Linked DNA regions of Homo sapiens: region 1 is linked to region 2. The links are contacts of gene promoters, found by promoter capture Hi-C in blood cells and fetal thymus (Javierre and others, 2016). All regions are on one chromosome and are shown on one strand. The core of a region is centred on a gene start or on the middle of the fragment in contact, and the rest is flanking DNA. Distances in the headings are between cores, read along the strand shown. Region 1 overlaps ZNF24TR (ZNF24 transcription regulator). Region 2 holds the start of GALNT1 (polypeptide N-acetylgalactosaminyltransferase 1).

Region 1 (3,306 bases), core at 640-3,139, 120 kb before region 2:
AGGTTACTGTTTTCCTTCCTTCCTTCCTTCCTTCCTCCCTTCCTTCCTTCCTTCTTTCCCTTTCTTTCTTTTCTTTCTTTTTTCTTTCTCTTCCTTTTTCTTTTTCTTTCTTTCCTTTCTCTCTCTCTCTTCTCTTTCTTTCTTTCTCTTTCGCTCTTGTTGCCCAGGCCTAGTGCAATGGTGCAGTCTCGGCTCACTGCAACCTCCACCTCCCAGGTTCAAGTGATTCTTCTGCCTCAGCCTCCCGAGTAGCTGGGATTACAGGCATGCACCACCACGCCCAGCTGATTTTTTGTATTTTTAGCAGAGATGGGGTTTCTCCACATTGGCCAGGCTGGTCTTGAGCTCCTGACCTCAGGTGATCCATCCGCCTCGGCTTCCCAAAGTGCTGGGATTACAGGCATGAGCCACTACGCCTGGCCAGGTTACTGTTTTTCTACAAAACCTTCCAAACAGCCAAGCAAGGAGTTCGGGGGGAGTTGTACAAATGCGTACTTTGAGGAAGCTCATTTTTGAGGTCTAATGTTGTCTGTAATAATTTTCCGTTGCGAAGAGCAGAAATTCTCTTCTTTATCTCTAGTGAGCAATTTCCTTTCCAGATGTTATTAGGGGAGATATCAGTCACCAAGGCCTTGGCTGGCTCCCTGATAAAAGCCCTTGCAGTATTCCACACTGCAGAACCCCAGGCTATGCCCTCCTGGATTCATACTAGAAAGATCCAAGGCTCCAAGCCACCAGGGCTGATGGATGTGACTCATCTTCCTGACCCCAGGGGAGGCGAGTGGTGTGTTTGGTGCACACTGTGCACCTGTCAGTAGTCAGCATCCTGTAGGCCAGGAAAACACTGACTCTTCTCAGGAAAGGCTTTGACGGCAGTTGGAACAGAAGTACAAGTAGACAGAGGCCACTGAGTTATGGAAGAAAACCAGGCTGGATCCAGTTCTGTGGATCCAGGAAGAAGGATCCCTCCTTTTCCTGCTCAAGCTGGTCATCAAAACAAGTAAACAACTAGCCCCCCTTTTTTGTTTTTTTAGGGTTTTAAGGTTTGCTATTACATAGGAAACATGGTAGTATACATGGTGAATACCAAAGAAGGCATAAAACATTAGTGATTTTTAAGAGGTCCAGTGGGTGGTTTCTACTGGCTCTTTCTGTCCCTCATTATTCTAGAGGAGTTCCTCCATTAAAGTCCTCTGCTATTCACCCCACAAATCCCTCAACCCCTCTCTCTCCCCCGGCCTCAATCACAGATCATTGCTTCTTTAGCTAGTTATTTACTCCTTCCCTTGTCTCATAAAAAAGTTGAGCAAGCTTATTAGAATAAGAGAATAAAGGACGAAAAGAAATGGTCAAAATAAGCAATGAAGAAGGCAAGGAAAATAGTTGATAGAGCCAGCAATAAGATGAGCACATGGAAACATCTATCATATGATGTTATTCAGTTACTACAAGCGGGCATGAGCCAAGAGTCCTAGGAGCCAAGGAAATGAGAAATATAACCAAGCAGAACATACAAGTCAGGAAAACTCTGCCTTTCTAATGCACAGACCAGAGGGGATGTGGGTGATCCCAGTCCCGAGTTAAGTGTTTCTCTGACATTTTCTTATTTGATCCTGACAATCTCGTGGGGTGGACATTATTATAACACTCATTTTACAGATAAGGAAACTAAGAATTCAAGAGTAAGTTCGTAATGTGCCCAAGACTACAGTTAGTGAGATGCAGAAATGAGATTCAAACCCAGGCTATCAGGCTCCATGTCTGGGTCCTGAATGAAAAAGCTCACCCTACAGGACTGGGGTGGGGGAGTGGGGTTCTGTGGGACATTTCTGAGACAAATGTAATAGGCATTTTTGTAGGTCCATATCTCCTGACCTCTTTCAATCCAATTCCTTAATATGGGCACAAAAGCATAAACCCTGTTGAAATTCAGCAAAAGCAATTCCTTGAAGCCAAACAATTTGTGCAGGTGCATAGTTCTTTGATAACCTAATTTCCTTCTCTATTTACATAAATGAATACTGCAGATTCTATCAGGAATTATAACAACAGGTATTTATTCAAGCCATAGTCAGTCATTCAATGCATCCGCAGCCCTCTCTATTAAGATTTATACCCCACTAGAACCTCAAAGCTGAAGTCTTTGGTCTTCTCACTCTCAGGCTTCCTAACCTCTACAGAGAAAATACTCTTAAATACACAGCCCTCCGGGACAACTGAACACACAATGAAGACCTCTATTAAGAACATTTACAGGACAACTTTACCTGTCCATGGTTCTTCTCTTCTATATTCTTTGTTAGATGTTTTAGGAATTGGGTACTTCCTCTATTCAAGACCGCATACCATTTAGGCAGCATTTCTCAAACTTTCAGCATCTGTAAGCCAGTGCAAGCTAATGCAAAGCACTAACTTTGGGTAAGATTTCATCACAATTTTTAGTAATAAAAATATCTCATTCTTTTTGAAAGCTTTTTTATTATGAAGAAATGCAAACATATACCAAAGGCAGAATAGTATAAAGAACCCCCATGGACTTATCACTCAGCTTCAACTATAACTGACTCATGGCCAATCTTATTTCAACACGATTCTCATCCACTTCCTCTCTCTCATATCATTCTGAAGCAAATCCCAGATGTCATATCATTCCATCCATAAATATTTCAGTAGGTGTCTCTAAAAATATGAATTATTTTAACATTACAATAGCATAATCACAACTATTTGTGAGAATTCCAAAATATTATCAAATATCAAAATATATCAGATTCCCAAATGTCTCAAAATTTTAAAGTTTTTTTTGTTGTTGTTTGAATGAGGATCCAAATAAGGCCCACACATTCCCATCAGATAGAATATTATTTTAAATGACACTATTGTTTCATGCATTTGTAAGAGGGCATAATTTGTAATCTCTCCCCAGGATATCTGTCCTATTTGATAATGGGGTCAAGTTCCATAGTCCATTGATTTCTTTCGTTACCCTTTATTTTTACTAAGTTAAACTCTCCCAATTTACAGTCACTGGAAAGAGTAACAAATATCTGGTATCTTTTTCCAATGACTATGGATTCAGAAATTAAGAGATTTCTTACTGCAAACATGTTTAGCCCTCCACCAGGTGCCAAATCAATCATGAAACACATTTAAAATTTGGACAGATCCATGCTTTAACTTGGGAGATGGGGGAAAATGGGTCCCCCTCACCTACAGGGACTGCCTTCTGGCTCTGAAGAGCATATTTTCAACGTTACAGGTCGTTTTAAACCATGCCTAATACCAGATTAAGAAAGAGTCAAACTC
Region 2 (3,086 bases), core at 580-3,079:
TATTCATGTACAAGTTACTGTATGAATTTATCTTCAGTTCTCTCAGGCATACGCCTAGGAGTGGAATTGTTGGGTGATAGAATACTTCATGTGTAACTTTTTAAAAAACCTGGAAAACTGTTTTCCAAAGTGGCTGCACCATTTTACATTTCCATAGGCAACGTATGAGGGTTCTAATTTCTCCATCTCTTCACCAACACTGCTATTGTCTGTCTGTCTTTTGTACTACAGCCAGTGTAGTGGGTGTCAAGAACTTCCTTGTTGTGCTTCTAATTTGCATTTCCCTATTAACTAATGATGTTGAACACCTTTTTATGTAATTGTTGATCATTTAAATATCTTTGGTAAAACGTCTATTCAATTGTTTTGCCCATTTAAAATTGGACTATTAGTCTTATTACTGAGTTGTAAGAGTTCTTCATACATTCTGGCTACAAGTCCTTTAACAGATATATGATTTGCCAATCTTTTCTCCCAAGATAAGAGTATTTTTTAACGATGACAACTTTATTCCAAAGTGAAGTTTCCTTGTGGAACAGTAACAGGCTAGTCATGATTGACTTTGTTTCAAAATATTATATAAGTACTTTTAAAATAGTAACTTTTAACTTTTATTTTAGAATACTTGGAAGATGTAGACAAGCAAAAACAGGATACTAAAATTCCAGAGATAATCTTCAGGTTTTTTTTTTTTTTTTTCGGACAGCCTTTTGGTTATGTGAGAGGTAATATAAATTTAAAAGTGGGACCACTTAAATATTAAGTAATCTCTTATTGCAGCTCTTGGTTGGCAAGCAATAAGACACAAACCTCTGAATTATTTAAGTAGAAAATTAATTTATTAAAAGAATGGTTGGTTATGCCTCGCGTGAGTGACAGAGCCAGGGTTTTGTCTTCTATCTTCAGGGCAGGGTACAGCTGGGTATTGGAATTGTACCAAGCAGTGTTTCCCAAGGGGGCACAGAGGGAGGGCCCCTCTCCGGGCACTGTGCGGGAGCCACTTCCCCAAACAGTCCCCGTTCTGCAAGGGCCCCGGCGTTGCTGCCCCCGAGACCCGGGTGCCTGCCCCGGCGGTGCGGGTCGCGGGCCTCCGCTCTCGCCGTCCTCCCTCAGTCCCGGGCCTCCTGCATCGCGGTCGCCAGGCGCAGGCTCAGCGCGGCTGACAGCGCTCCAGCTCCCGCGCTCGCGGCCGCCTCAGGCAGCCGACCGGGTTGGGGCGGCCCCGCGCTCGGCCCGGGAGCCGATCCGCTGTGAGGGCTCCTCCATCTCCTCCCACCCCGTGACCTGCTCGACGCGCAACAGCCCGAGTTGTCTTTAACTTGCTGCGGCAGCCTCTTTGTCCCGACCCAGGGTCGGGGGCACCTCTCGGCCTGGCCCGGCCCTGCCCGTAGCCGTGTGAGCGGGGGCCGGGACTGGGCGGTCGGTCCGGGAGGGGCGCCGCGCCCGACCCCGGAGTCCCGAGCCCGAGGGGAGCGTCGCGGCCCCGCGGTGGGCTCGCCGCAGCGGAGGGGGCGCGCATCCGGGTGAGCGCCGGCGCCCCCGCCTCCCCCGCGCAGCCGCACGGGCCGCCGCCGCCGCTGCCGCCGAGCACGCAGCGCAGGGAGGACCGCGCCCGAGCGCCTGCGGGCGCCCTGCGGCGCCCGCCGCGCGACGAGCCCCAAGTGAGCGGGCAGGCGGCGCGCATGCGGGGCGGCCCGGAGTAGCGCCGCCCGAGCCCGCGAGCGGGGCGCCCGGAGTAGCCGCCGACCCGAGCCGGGCGCGGAGGCGGGGGCGGGCGCGGCGGAGCGGGGCCCGGCCGGACCCGCCCGCCCGCCGGGGGAGCCGCCGGCAGTGGCCGAGGAGCGCGCGGCGGACGGCGGCCCGAGAGTAGCGCGCTGGCCGCGGGACCGGCCGCGACCGCCGCGGCCGGCCCGGAGGACGCCTGCCGCCGCCGCCGCCGCGCGCCTAGCGAGGTGAGTGTATCGCCCGCGGCTGGGCAGTCCCGGAGCCGCAGCGCTGCGCGCGGGTCGGAGGTGGAGAAAGAGGCCCCGCCGCGGCCGCGTCCCCGGTCCCTTTGTGGCCGGCGCTGCCTGGGGCCGGGGCGCGGGCACGCTCGGCGCGGGTTCGGGTCTGGGACCCCGGTGCCGTTGGACACGCGGCGTCTCTGGTTGGCAGCTTTGGCGAGCAGCGAGTTTCCGTCCTAGTTTGACATTGAGTTAGAACCGTTTTTCTTTAGAAGACGGAAGTTTGTTTTATTGACAAAAATAAAGCTAAATATGGCTTCTGGGTTCGGCCGTGTGGTACTTGCAACCGCGGTGCCAGCCTGACCCTCGCGGCGCCACGGGGGAGGGGAAGACACGCCGGCAGCGGGGGAGGGGGCTTCCCGGCCCGCTGCCCCCGAGGAGGACCCGGACCTAAATTAGCAAATGTTTGTGGTTGGGAAGTAGCGGGCTTTAGGTAATGTAGTAGCTTTTCCGCTTTTCCTGGAAGAATGAATGAATGAGATGTCATTTACTCATCCATAATCAATACGTTGCCCATTTAAGCATTTACCAGGAATTGGGATGATTTGCATTGTCATTGCTTCTCTTATCTGGTCAGCCTTGCTAGATGAGGTTCCCTTACTCCCCAGATTTGTGACCTTGTCCTCATTCTCAAAGCCACTGAGCTAACCAACCCGTCTACCAAACTCACTTGGCATTTTTTTGGTCAAGTGGGCAATAGGCAAAGTAGTCTTTCTGAACTGTTTCTGGAGGGCAGAGAATGTCACTTTGATCATATCTTATGTTTAATACATTGCTTTATAATCGTGTCAAGAACGCTGAGAGTTAGGAGGTCTTGTCATTTCACAGATGAAATAGTGAAGGCCCTAAGAAGTTGCAACTTTTCAGGTCACAATCTGAGCAGCAGAGTTGGGATTCAAACCTAGACCTTGTTAGTCCAGTCCTCTTTACATCACATCTGTGTCCAGACCTGGACTGTCCAGCGTGGGAGCCACTAACCACATGTGACTATTAAAATTAAATTTTAAAAATTCAGCTCCTCGGTCACAGTAGCCACATTTCAAGTGTTCCATAGCTAAATGTGGTTCTTTGCTACAGTTGAAC

The links. Contacts are between HindIII fragments. The CHiCAGO score rates a contact against its expected background, and 5 or more counts as called.
Region 1: a contact is called between a fragment that was not itself captured here and the fragment with the promoter of GALNT1 in region 2, in 2 of 17 cell types (M1 macrophages and M0 macrophages). The highest score is 5.5, in M1 macrophages.

Annotation. Positions count from the first base shown.
Region 1 is chr18:35,462,575-35,465,880 of GRCh38, forward strand. The region is part of intron 1 of ZNF24TR (ZNF24 transcription regulator); the gene reads right to left. Among named protein-coding and RNA genes, the nearest start is that of ZNF24TR, 2.9 kb to the right of the region's middle. RefSeq lists an enhancer at 507-651 and a cis regulatory region at 570-587. The HindIII fragment of the contact is 1,160 bases long and covers 1,310-2,469 here.
Region 2 is chr18:35,579,911-35,582,996 of GRCh38, forward strand. GALNT1 (polypeptide N-acetylgalactosaminyltransferase 1) reads left to right here and starts at 1,830. Exons shown (of 12, transcript NM_020474.4): 1 at 1,830-1,952. RefSeq lists a silencer at 872-1,571. The HindIII fragment of the contact is 12,017 bases long and covers 1-3,086 here.